Linked DNA regions of Homo sapiens: region 1 is linked to region 2. Evidence: promoter capture Hi-C in human tissues and cell types (Jung and others, 2019). All regions are on one chromosome and are shown on one strand. The core of a region is centred on a gene start or on the middle of the fragment in contact, and the rest is flanking DNA. Distances in the headings are between cores, read along the strand shown.

Region 1 (5,711 bases), core at 74-2,573, 380 kb after region 2:
AAATATGTGTCCTGTACCCTTTACAAAGGCTACAAGTAGCCTTCTCTCCTTGCTTGTAGACCACTTCCTTGAATTGACAGCAGGTATATTCAGAAGATGAAAATCAATTTTATTGTGGGTTTCTTATGCTCCTTAAAAAGAAGATTCTACAATAAAATAAATTTGGGAAACATTTTTGCAAATTTCCTTTTTCAGTAAACCACACAATATACATCAGCATGCTGAATGCTCTGATTAGTCCTGCAATAAATTAACCTGCTTAACCTCAATGTTAGTTCACCGGGTATTTCTCAAGCTTATTTGGCCAGAAAATTGTTTTGTTTTGCTTTACATCAAATCTGTAAACACCTGTGGAATTTTGCCTTAGAACATAATTTGTGTATCTTAAACAAACATTATTAGAAAAAAATTGCTGCTCAACCCTTAATAAATTTAAAAGTCAAGTGTAAATAATGTTTGAATTATCTATTGATTCTCTTACCCATTACCATTTTTGTCATCTCTTCCCTAGCCCCATGGGGCATAAGGCTCAAATCAGATGTCACAGATGGCACAGCAATGATTCATGACAATGGATAATATTTAAAAAAAAAAAGTATCAGGGACAAAGAAACACTTTAACAAATGGAAAATAACCCAAAAAGAAATGATTGGCTTACTTTAAACACACCTTTGCTATAAAACAGCAAGTGTTTTATAAAGTAATTTAAATAACTCTAGGTTACTGCTCTGTAAGTCTCAAGAGATAGAACTGACCTGAGATGACTATTGTTAATGCCATAGCTTTGATTAAATGAACTTCACTGTGACCCTAGAGTGATGGTTCTTCCAATGAGAAGCAACGAGATTGCTCAGTTATATGCTATCTCAGGAAAATTGCCTCTAATGTCACAACCATATGGAATGGAACTTTAAGATACTATTAACACATTTCTATATTCTAGGCTTACATACACATTTTAAGATTTAGGATTCATTCAAGTTAATAAGAGTGAATGTGCATATCTCATTTTCTGGTACATCCCTAATTCAAACCACAATTTTCCTCCAATAAAGTTCATGTGTTGAATGTGGAAAAAAAATTATAACAATTTTTGAAAAAAGGTGACACAAATGTTTACATGTCCTTCAGCTGAAGTTTTTCCAGTAATACTTTTGTAATAATTTTAATTTTCTATATTTCAACCAGACAAAAGCCACTGCATTTTGTGGGAGATAATCCTACAGAAGAGACTTTGGCTATTATAACTTTGGACTTTGGGCCAGGTGCGGTGGCTTACGCCTGTAATCCCAGCTCTTTGGGAGACCAAGGTAGGAGAATCACTTGAGGTTAGGAGTTCGAGACCAGCCTGGCCAACATGGTGAAACCCCGTCTCTACTAAAAATACAAAAATTAGCTTGGCATGGTGGTTTGTGCCTGTAGTCCCAGCTACTCGGGAGGCTGAGGCAGGAAAATCACTTGAACCTGGAAGAAGGAGGTTGCAGTGAGCTGAGATCACATCACTGTACTCCAGCCTGGTTGACAGAACAAGAGTTTGTCTCAAAACAAAACAAAAAGTTAGGCTTTGTTAACTTTTGGATTGGAGAAACATTTTTACTTATAGTAACTTTCCTTTAAGAAATATTATATATTAAAATGTTTTCTACCCTCAAATAGACTATTTGGCATTTTAGGTTCTTATAAATTTGAAAAAGCTTTATGACAAGCTGGCTCACATCTATGACACCTTATGACAAGTGACATATTTAGCTTATATTTACACTATCTCCAATGAAAGCCTCAATTTAAAACAGTGAATATGATAAAATTCAATGGAATAAAACAGCTAATGAGCAAATATTATCTTAGTTCTACTTTCAGTTTAAATATCACTGTAGAATTTTGGGCAAATACTAGAATGTAGGTTGTTTTGTTTTGTTTTGTTTGTTTTGTTTTGAGATGGAGTCTTGCTCTTGTCACCCAAGCTGGAGCGCAATGGAGCAATCTCAGCTCACTGCAACTTTTGTCTCTCGGGTTCAAGCAATTCCCTGCCTCAGCCTTCTGAGTAGCTGGGATTACAGGCGTCCGCCATCATGCCCGGCTAATTTTTTTGTATTTTTAGTAGAGACGGGTTTTCACCATGTTGGCCAGGCTGGTCTCAAACTCCTGACCTCAGGTGATCCACCCGCCTTGGCCTCCCAAAGTGCTAGAATTACAGGCATGAGCCACCGCGCCCAGCCAAAATGGAGGTTTTTTATAATAGCACTTTTTATTTACAATAGTTAATTTCTTGAGAAATAATTGTAAATAATATTTTAAAGTTCACCAAAATATTTTTTTTCACATCCATCCTGCAGTGAAACCCTTTTCATAATATACATAACCACCTCCTATCCCACCCCTGCCACACACACACCCTAGTTCATTTGTTTTGTTGTTCACATTTTTGTGTGTCTCATATTCATAAGTCAGGTCACAACCTGATGGGAAATATGTATTGGCTCCAACATATAGAGACTCTTCTAATGTTGTTTACATGACTCCATAAATTTTCTCCATGGTACCATTGGGTAACAAAAAGTTGCTGATACCCTATTTTCTCATAGAAAAGCCTGAAATGACATGTAGACATTGTCATGTTGAGGCCTGAGTTTTTCTTTTTGAATCCTGTGGTATTTTCCCCAAAAAATTTGGAGAAAAGAATAATTTAGAATACCAAATTTACATGCCAAATTCTAGAATTTCATTTTTTTATTTGATTATAGATGACTAGTTAAAATGACCAGTTCCTAATATGTAACTAAGAAATATTTATGACAACAATATCAGTATAATTAGTGTAGAAATGAAAATATTTAATACTTGGAATGTATACTAACTTTCTGGAAAATTTTGAAATACAAAAAATGTATTAGAAATGATGTCATGGAAAATATAAAATTGACAATTTTATTTGCAATTGTGAATTGCAGGATTTTCATGTCTTTTTACTATTTACAAAGATAAATTCTCTGATTCAAATCAGTAGGACTTCTTGACCCAAACTTCAAAGTCCACTATCTAAACTTAGGAAAATCAGTGTGATTTTCAAGTTATAGTACTCTTTGAAAGTATCTCCTCTATGAAAGTCAATATTCAGATTACGTATACAGAAAAACTGTAGAAAGGTTTAAACCTAATGATAGGAACTATGTTAATTCATGGGGGAAGTTCTGGAGATATTATTAGGTGCTATGTGTTGTCTTCCCTGGCTCGGAAGGACATCACCAGAATGCCCCCGTGTCTGGGCAGCCTCGTGATCCAACATTCCCTTTCCTTAATTCCATAAAGACGTTTAATTGACTGGGTTGAAGTGTGCTAAGTTGTCTTAATGTTTCAAATTCATACATGAAACAATCTGGAATCTTCCCCCAGGAGCTCGGTGTTCTGGCTCCTTCTGTGCTCTGCCCACAGTCCCACCACTTACCTTTCCTCTCAGCGTCCTCAGCCCTGGTCAGGTAATGGTACAGGTAATCCAGTTTATCAGGCTGCTCCTCCAGGGGCTTCTGCAGCCAGAAGAGGGACCTGACTCTCGCAGCCTCCCTCAGGGCATCCCACCGCTCCATCAGAGCGAAGAGCTCGGTGAAGGACTTATGATAACCATCTCGCAGCATGTCCACACAGATATTCTTCTTGTAGGAGTTCCTATAACTGGAAATATGAATCAGAACACTCTCAGGTTTATGTTAATCCTTTCAGTCTGCACGGTATTTTCATTCTCTAATAATTAAAGGTTGAATCATGTTGCCTTTTATCCCTCAGTGAAAGCACTGAAAACTATCAAAAGATCTTTGCCTCAAACACTTATAATTGAACAACTTCTGTTTAATGAAAGATGCCAGGAGCTATCTAAACACAGTAATTTTAATGAAATTACATTATAAACATATCAGTTCCAGAGCTGAGCTCCATTTGATAAGGACAAATAAGCTAGTTGACTGATGAATATTAAAAAATACTTGATATATCAGCCTCCCACCAAAAAAAACCTCAACAAGTCAAGCAAAAATAAAACTTGCCATTTAATATCAAAACAATATTCTCTCTATATTAGTAGTTTCACTGTATGTTACAGAAGTTCATCATTCTTTCATTCATGCAGAAAATATTTATTGAAATCTATTACTAACTATATATTTTTTAATTACTTTCAGTTAGAATTAAGTTAATGATTAATAATTATATTCTCACTTCAATAATCAAATGCAAAAAGATAAAGTGACAAATGAATATTCCATTTAGTCAAGCGACAAATAGGTGCTGAGTTTCCTACTAAGTGCCAGGCGCTGTTCTAGACCAAATAGATTCCATACCCTTGTGACGCTTACATTCTAGGGGCAGAACATGACTAACAAATAAGTAAGCAAATGAGAAATAATTTCAAATCACGAAAATTTCTAGAAAGGAAATAAACAGAATTGTGAGATAATAGCTGTGTAGTGGCTATTATTCCATTAAAAGAACAATTAGATACCAAAAGATATAGCTTTATACTAATTATATTATATTCTTTAAAAAAAAATAGGACAAACGACATGATGTGATACTACTGGCAACAAAAATTCACCGTGGAGTGGAAACAGCCCAGACCACCAAGATTGAGTCCAGTTTTGCCTCACCTCCCTGGGTCTCCAGTCTTCTCATCTCTAAGCTGTGTATATTAGTATATGCTACCTACATCATGGGATTCCTCTAGGAACCAAATGAAATTAGGTATGTGAGAATACTCTGGGAAATGTGAAATCTCACTGCTGCTTCTCAATTCCTCATTATGCATTAGATTCACCTACAGAGTTCAAAAAAACAAACAAATAACAAAACAAAACAAAGTGACTAGACTTGCATCTACCAAGGATTTCTTATCCATTGGATCAACTTAGGTAGAGAACAAACAAATGAGGAGTGGCAAGCAGGAGAGTGGTGAGACAGGAAGTTTAGAAAAAAAGGCAGGGACCAGATCATGAAGAGATCTTACGGTAAAAACAACAGTGAGAAGTTTGGACTCCAAGCTGGGAGGGAGGTAGAGCTATTGGAGATCAGAGTCAGGGAACTGACATGACGAGACTGCATTTTACAAAAGTCATCTGGAAGAAGTGTCCCAGCTGAACCGCAACCTTCCCCTATATGGCAGTCAGGTTGTTACAGAACTAGTTCGTAAAGAGAATAAAGAGACCACATGGATCCTAGGTCAAAAGATCAAATGCCAACATTTAGTATGAGAATAAGATATATTTGAAATGGGGAAGAGAAAAGGAATAGTGCTTGTTACTTATTCCTGTCCTCCAATTGCGATCGATAGAGGAGAAAAGTATGGAGAAAGGCAGTGAGATGCTTGGAGGGCCATGTTCTCTTTCTCTTTCTCACTCCAGTCAAATGGAGGGGCTCAGAGAGTAGAAAAGTCAACATCCTGTGAAATGCAGTGAGAGCCAAGAGTAGAAAACACTCATATCCTGCTTCCCATCTAGGGTTATTGAAGGCAGGGAGGATTACCAACATCCCTCTCCCCACCTCCCTATACGCAAGGGCATGCAAAGGCAGCAAAAGTCCCTGCATAGCACTTCTAGGCAGAAGAGGACCAGAACCAACCCTGTAATTGCCCACAGCCCATGAATGGTATAGGAGAAGGGACTTAATATTCCAGTGGGCATCATGTGTGGCCCAGAATTTACTGGGAGGAGAGGGCTGATAAGTC
Region 2 (5,606 bases), core at 1,560-4,059:
TATATATTATGTATATAACATAATATATAATATATGATACAATAATGTACATAATATATAATATACATAATATCTCAAGGCCCCTCTGAGAGAGAATATATATTATATATAATAATATATTTTATATAATATATAACATATTATATACAATATATAACATAATATATAATATGATAATATATAATACATTATTTAACATAATATATAATATTATCTATATATAGAGAGAGATGACCTACTATGTCTTAGGCATTTGTAGTACAACAATGAATAAAAGAAACAAAGATTTCCTCAAATGCTGTAATAAATTATTTAATATGCCTGGCATTTACACAAATCATTTTGCTGAGATCTAAGAAAAGGGAAAGAAAGGGAGAAGGCAAGTGCAAAAGGCATTGCATTTGGGGGCAGTGAAGGCTGCTCAAAAACTTTTATAAGAGGTACATTATCTTTATATTTGTTAGTGAATCTGTCTCAGCAGCTCACACAGGTAATATTTCTTCAGCAGCTAAGCAAGGTGATTCAGGAGCAGATTTTAAAGTCAAGGAATCTGGCTTGCTTGGGAAGTAGAAGTTTCCCAGGAATTTTAAATACCCTGGTCTCCAATAGTTCCTCTTCCCTAAGCTAGCTACCTTAACCTAGAGAGAGTCACCTGGTATCTTCAACTGTAAAAGAAGCATGTTGGCTTAAAACACTTTAAATATTCCCCTCCCCCTCTTAACATTCTATTATAATTAAACAAAGGAATGAATTATCCTACATTAAAGACAGAAGGACTAGTGGAAATGGGAAATGGCATTTCTATGATACAATAATGTACCAAAATATTAATAAGCAGAGTCTATGGAACACATAAGTTTGCAGAATCTATCTCATACATGCCACTGCAGAAAAGCCCCACGGAAATGATTCAGCATTCAACACCTTTCTTCCCACAGAATATTTAGGAATGCAAGGTAAAAGATATTTTGCCAAACTTAGCCCCTGCAGATTTAAAGTTAAAGATCATACATCCTCTGTAATTTCATCTCAAAACTGAGCAAATAAGAGATCTAACACGAGAAGCGATAGCTAGTGAAGTGTGCATTGCAGATCATGCAAAGGTACTCTAAGTCTTACTATTCATTTAGCTCCGGGGATAGGGGGTCTTCATTTGACAGACCTGATCTTCACAAGAGTTTCCCAAAAGTTCACAGAGCAGCAGTGTTAAAGAAGAAACTATTACCATCAATCAGAGGGAGAAACCACCAGGAATAACTGCTTTATTCTCACAGTTACATATTCTACACATTTTGTTCTAAGTTGAATACAGAAGAACAAAATTTTAAAACAAACAATCCTTCATCTCCACAATTTTGGTTTAAATAATTCCTTTTAAAATGTTCCCGGAAGCTACTTCTAAACAGAGTAATGGGGTGGAGGTTAAGGGGAGAAGGGACCACTGCTGTTCTCCTAAGAGATCATTTCATTCACTTCCATCATGTTTTAACAAAAAGATAAAAATAACTTCAAATATCCTCCTGAGCGCTTCCTACTATGAAATATTGTGCCTGTTCACCTCTATCCTTATTTGCTCCGGTTGCATGAGTTAGGTATTAAACCTGTCAATAAGCTTGGAAACTGACAAACAAGGTCAAAAAGACAAGCGAATTGAATAAATTCAATTAATGTTTATGAAAAGTAGTACAAGATTGTCTAAAGGTGTTGGGGGGGGCATAAAAAACTAATATTTCTAATGTTCCCACCAGTGCCCATCATCTCCTGTACAAAGCTCCCACTATTCAGAGATCTAAGTATGCTTTCAGTCCATCCACATTTCCTTGCCAAAACACACACTACACTACACTACACATAGTCTAACAGTCTGTATCTGTTAGACTGCTAGTATAGCAACTGAATCCCGGCAGCACACGGAAGTATGCTGTAATGAAGTGTCCTGTAATCAAAGAGTGCAACGTGTCAGTCGGCTTGGGAGTTTCTGGAGCACCAGCAACTACAGCAAATCATCACTCTCCAACATGTGGGCCATAAAATCTGAGTTGGGGGCGGAGGTGTCCCTTTTCTTGTTTTTCCTCCACTTTTTTTTTTAATGTGGGGGCGGGGAGGACTCGAAAGTAGACTCGATAATGAGGTCCACTCCAAGATAGATACGGAACTCTTAGCAACCTAGATTCCCTTGGGATAGGATGCTACTTTGAAGGCAAGAGGAGTAAGTTTCATTCTCTGTAACCTCACTTCTTGACACTCAGGATAGTCATTGTTTGTCTACGGAAAAGGCTACCTGCCCTCAAATTCCTTTGCCTCGTTCCTAATTACAAGTTCCCTCTGGGGTTGGTAAATTAGAAAATCAGCAAAAGGGCCAAAGGCTGGTCAGTGCCCCCTGAAATTGGCAAGCGCTTGCAATGAGGGTTGCCCCACCTTTCCAAGACTCACAAATTAGTTCTGAAGTGGGAGCCGCGGTGGAGCCGGCAGAGGTGCAGCACTTACCCCCATTCACCCCTATGGACGGCTCCAGTTTAGCTCCAGCGATCGCCAGCACTATTCCGACCATGAACCAGTCTTTCCTCATTCTCTCCAGCAGCCTCATATTTGTTAGGGTGGGTGGGTTTTGTTTATTTGTTTGGCTTTTTTTCTTTTCAAGCTCCGATCACCTAATCCTTGGAGCGTCTCCACACTTTCCTTGGTCCCTCCAGACATGCAGCAGAGCAAGTCAAATTGCCGATTGTAAAGTAAAGACCTGGGGGTTGCTCCGGCGGCTTTGAGGAGGGTTGGGAGTAGTAGTAGCCAGTGACAGGAAAGTCTCACTGAGCGCCGCCATCACTACCACGCGCCTCAGAATACACGCGCACAAACGCCCCCAGCGCCTCTGGCCGCGGGCTCGCAGGTGCAGATGCTTTGAAATGAAGAACTCGGACCAGGCCGACAACGTGGGCGATCCGGCAAGGGAGGCTGGCCGCCGGATGGGGCTGACAAGCGCACCGCTGTCGAGACCTGCGGAACCTTCTGAATGACGAGGGGTCGGGGAGAGCGTCGTAAGGCGCCACAGCCAGCAAGCCTCACTGACTGTCCTTTTCTAACAAACCTTTAGGCACAGCCACCCACCCTTCTGGAGCATATCTCCATGGAGAGCCTCTCTTTTGCTGTGCCATGACTCCGCGGGCAGGGCTGACGTGTGCTTGGGGCAAGGGATTTCTCCGTTGAAGCTGCGGCAGCGGGGTGCAAGTTTGGAGACGCGCTTCTTCGGGACATTACGGCGCTTCCACGACGCTAGCGCTGACGTATGCGCGGGGGGGAGGGGAGGCCACTCTGGATCTCCGAGTTCCCAGCCTGAGCTGCCGGAGTTAGAGGTGTCCGCGCGGGAAAGTGGCTCGCTGGTGGGCGGGGAGCCTTATCTCTGGCGGTGGGTTGAAAATCCGGCGCCGGGCAGATGCCCACGTTCGCTGGACCCCTGCTTGCCGGCGTCCGCTACAACCCAAGGAAGGTGGGCCCGACCTCGCCAGGTCGCTCGCCTGCGGGTGGGCATTTGGTCCGGATCCCCTTCCCTCTGCGGCCCACACCTGTCTCCGGGACTGGGGAGGGCTGCAGGGATCGGGGCAGATCTGCCTTTGCGGGCCGAGAGTGACAGCTGAAGTCTCCCCACCAACTAAGCTACTCGCGGGCGGAGTGGGGTCTGCGCTGGCAAGCCCCTGGGCGCGCGGGTGCCCGCTCTGGCTCGCCCCCAGGGCTGACCTACCCAAGCCACAGGAAAACTCTGGGAAGAGGGTCGCGGATTCCAACGCGGAAGTGGTGGGGGATTGAGTCTGAGAGGTTGGGGAGTCCTACCTTCCATTGCCACGAGTGCTAGTTCTATCTGCCAGTTTCTTCCTTGAAATGTCTTGTGGCAACCAGTGACATTGATGGTTTCATGAATGGACTTCCTACCGGTAGACCCTGCAAGAGCATGAACTCCACTGTATCATTCATCCAAATGAAGAAAGAAAGAAAATAGTATGTGATATTTTGAAATAACCTGGCATCTGCCACTTAAATGGTTAAAAATAGAACTTAAGGTTTGGAAGAGATTGTTTCGTGATGACAGACTTTAATTCTGAATTTATTCAAAGCTGGAAAGACACTCGTCGTGTCATTTCCTCTATTTAATTTAGCTTTATCTTGATGGCAAGACTTCCAGAAACTAAGCCACTTTAAGAGTTGTGCTCCCAGTTGTAGGTTACACAGTACCAAGTGTCATCTAATTATACATCAGGCAACATGAAAAAAAATTAATTTCAAGATAAAAAGAACTTAACAGGGAGACATAGATGACATTAAGCAGTTTACTCTGAAAAGAGACAGGTACATGAAATATAAAATTTGATGTTAGTTGTCAGGCAGTCAGAAGATAAGTGAAGATAAATGAAAGATAGTTTACAACATAATTATTTTCTTATAGTAATTTCTTAGTAGGTTAAAGAGTCATACGTCTCAGTCATTGAAGGGATAGTTTTGTATTAAAACATCATTAAACATTAAGTTTACAGAAATTGAGCTGTTTTAACTGTACAGCTATTCACAAATTATTTACTAATACCTCTTTGATCTGTGTAGAGCAGAATCTAACTCAGAGATTTTTTTGTTCTGTTTTTAATGGTACTTAAAGGAAAAGAATATAATGTACCATGAATTATATTCTCTTAAGGCCTGTATTTGTTTGCTGTGGATGCTGAAACAAATACTCGAACTTGGATGCCTTCAAACAACAGAAATTTATTATCTCACAGTTCTGGAGGACAGAAGTCCAAAATCAAGATTTTGGCAGAGCCATACTCCCGCTGAAGGCTCTAGGGGAGAGTCCTTCCTTGCCTTTTCTAGTTTCTGGTGGTGCCTTCCTTGGCTTGTAGCTAGAGTGTTCCAATCTCTGCCACTGTTTTCACATCACATTCCCCTCTGTATTTCTTTCTAGTGGCCACATTATTCTAGTTTCTGCATCCATCTTCACGTTGCACCTCCTTTTCTGTGTATCTTTTATAAAGACACTTGTCATTGGATTTAGGGCCTACCCAGATAATCCAAAATGATCTCTCAAGAGCCTTAACTCAATCACAGTAGTCCCCCCTTATCCTGAAAGGATACATTCCAAGAACCTTAGGTAGATGCCTGAAACTGCTGGTTGTACTGAACCCTATCTATATATGCTATGGTATTTTTTCTTATACATACATTCCTATGATGATAATTTTTGGTTTATATTATTAGGCACAATAAGAGATGAACAATAATTAATACAGTCAGGCATTGCTTAACCACCGGGTTACATTCTGAGAAATGTATGGTTAGACGATTTCATCATTAGAGAAACATCATAGAGTGTACTTACACAAACCTAAATAATGTAGTGTACAACACACCTAGACTATATGGTATAGCCTATTGTTCCTAGGCTGCAAACCTATACAGCATGTTACTATACTGAATACTGTAGGCAGTTGCAACACAGTGGTATTTGTGTATCTAAACATATCTAAACATAGAAAAATTACAGTATAAGAGGTTTTTTTTTTTAATGGAGTCAGGAGTAGTGGTGTGTGCCTCTAGTCCCAGCTACTTCGAGAGGGTGAGACGGGAGA

What was found. Contacts are between HindIII fragments. The study calls those that stand out against the background at their distance.
Region 1: a fragment that was not itself captured here is called in contact with the fragment with the promoter of SLC10A7 in region 2 in 1 of the 25 tissues and cell types used here (mesendoderm cells).

The regions. Positions count from the first base shown.
Region 1 is chr4:146,905,580-146,911,290 of GRCh38, forward strand. It overlaps TTC29 (tetratricopeptide repeat domain 29), which reads right to left. Exons shown (of 13, transcript NM_031956.4): 5 at 3,447-3,670. Among named protein-coding and RNA genes, the nearest start is that of TTC29-AS1, 26 kb to the right of the region's middle. The HindIII fragment of the contact is 5,691 bases long and covers 1-4,169 here.
Region 2 is chr4:146,519,131-146,524,736 of GRCh38, forward strand. It overlaps SLC10A7 (solute carrier family 10 member 7), which reads right to left and starts at 2,810. Exons shown (of 12, transcript NM_001029998.6): 1 at 2,488-2,810. The coding sequence starts at 2,587. RefSeq lists enhancers at 1,938-2,167, 2,608-2,677, 2,898-2,977, 2,988-3,407, 3,578-3,657. The HindIII fragment of the contact is 10,684 bases long and covers 169-5,606 here.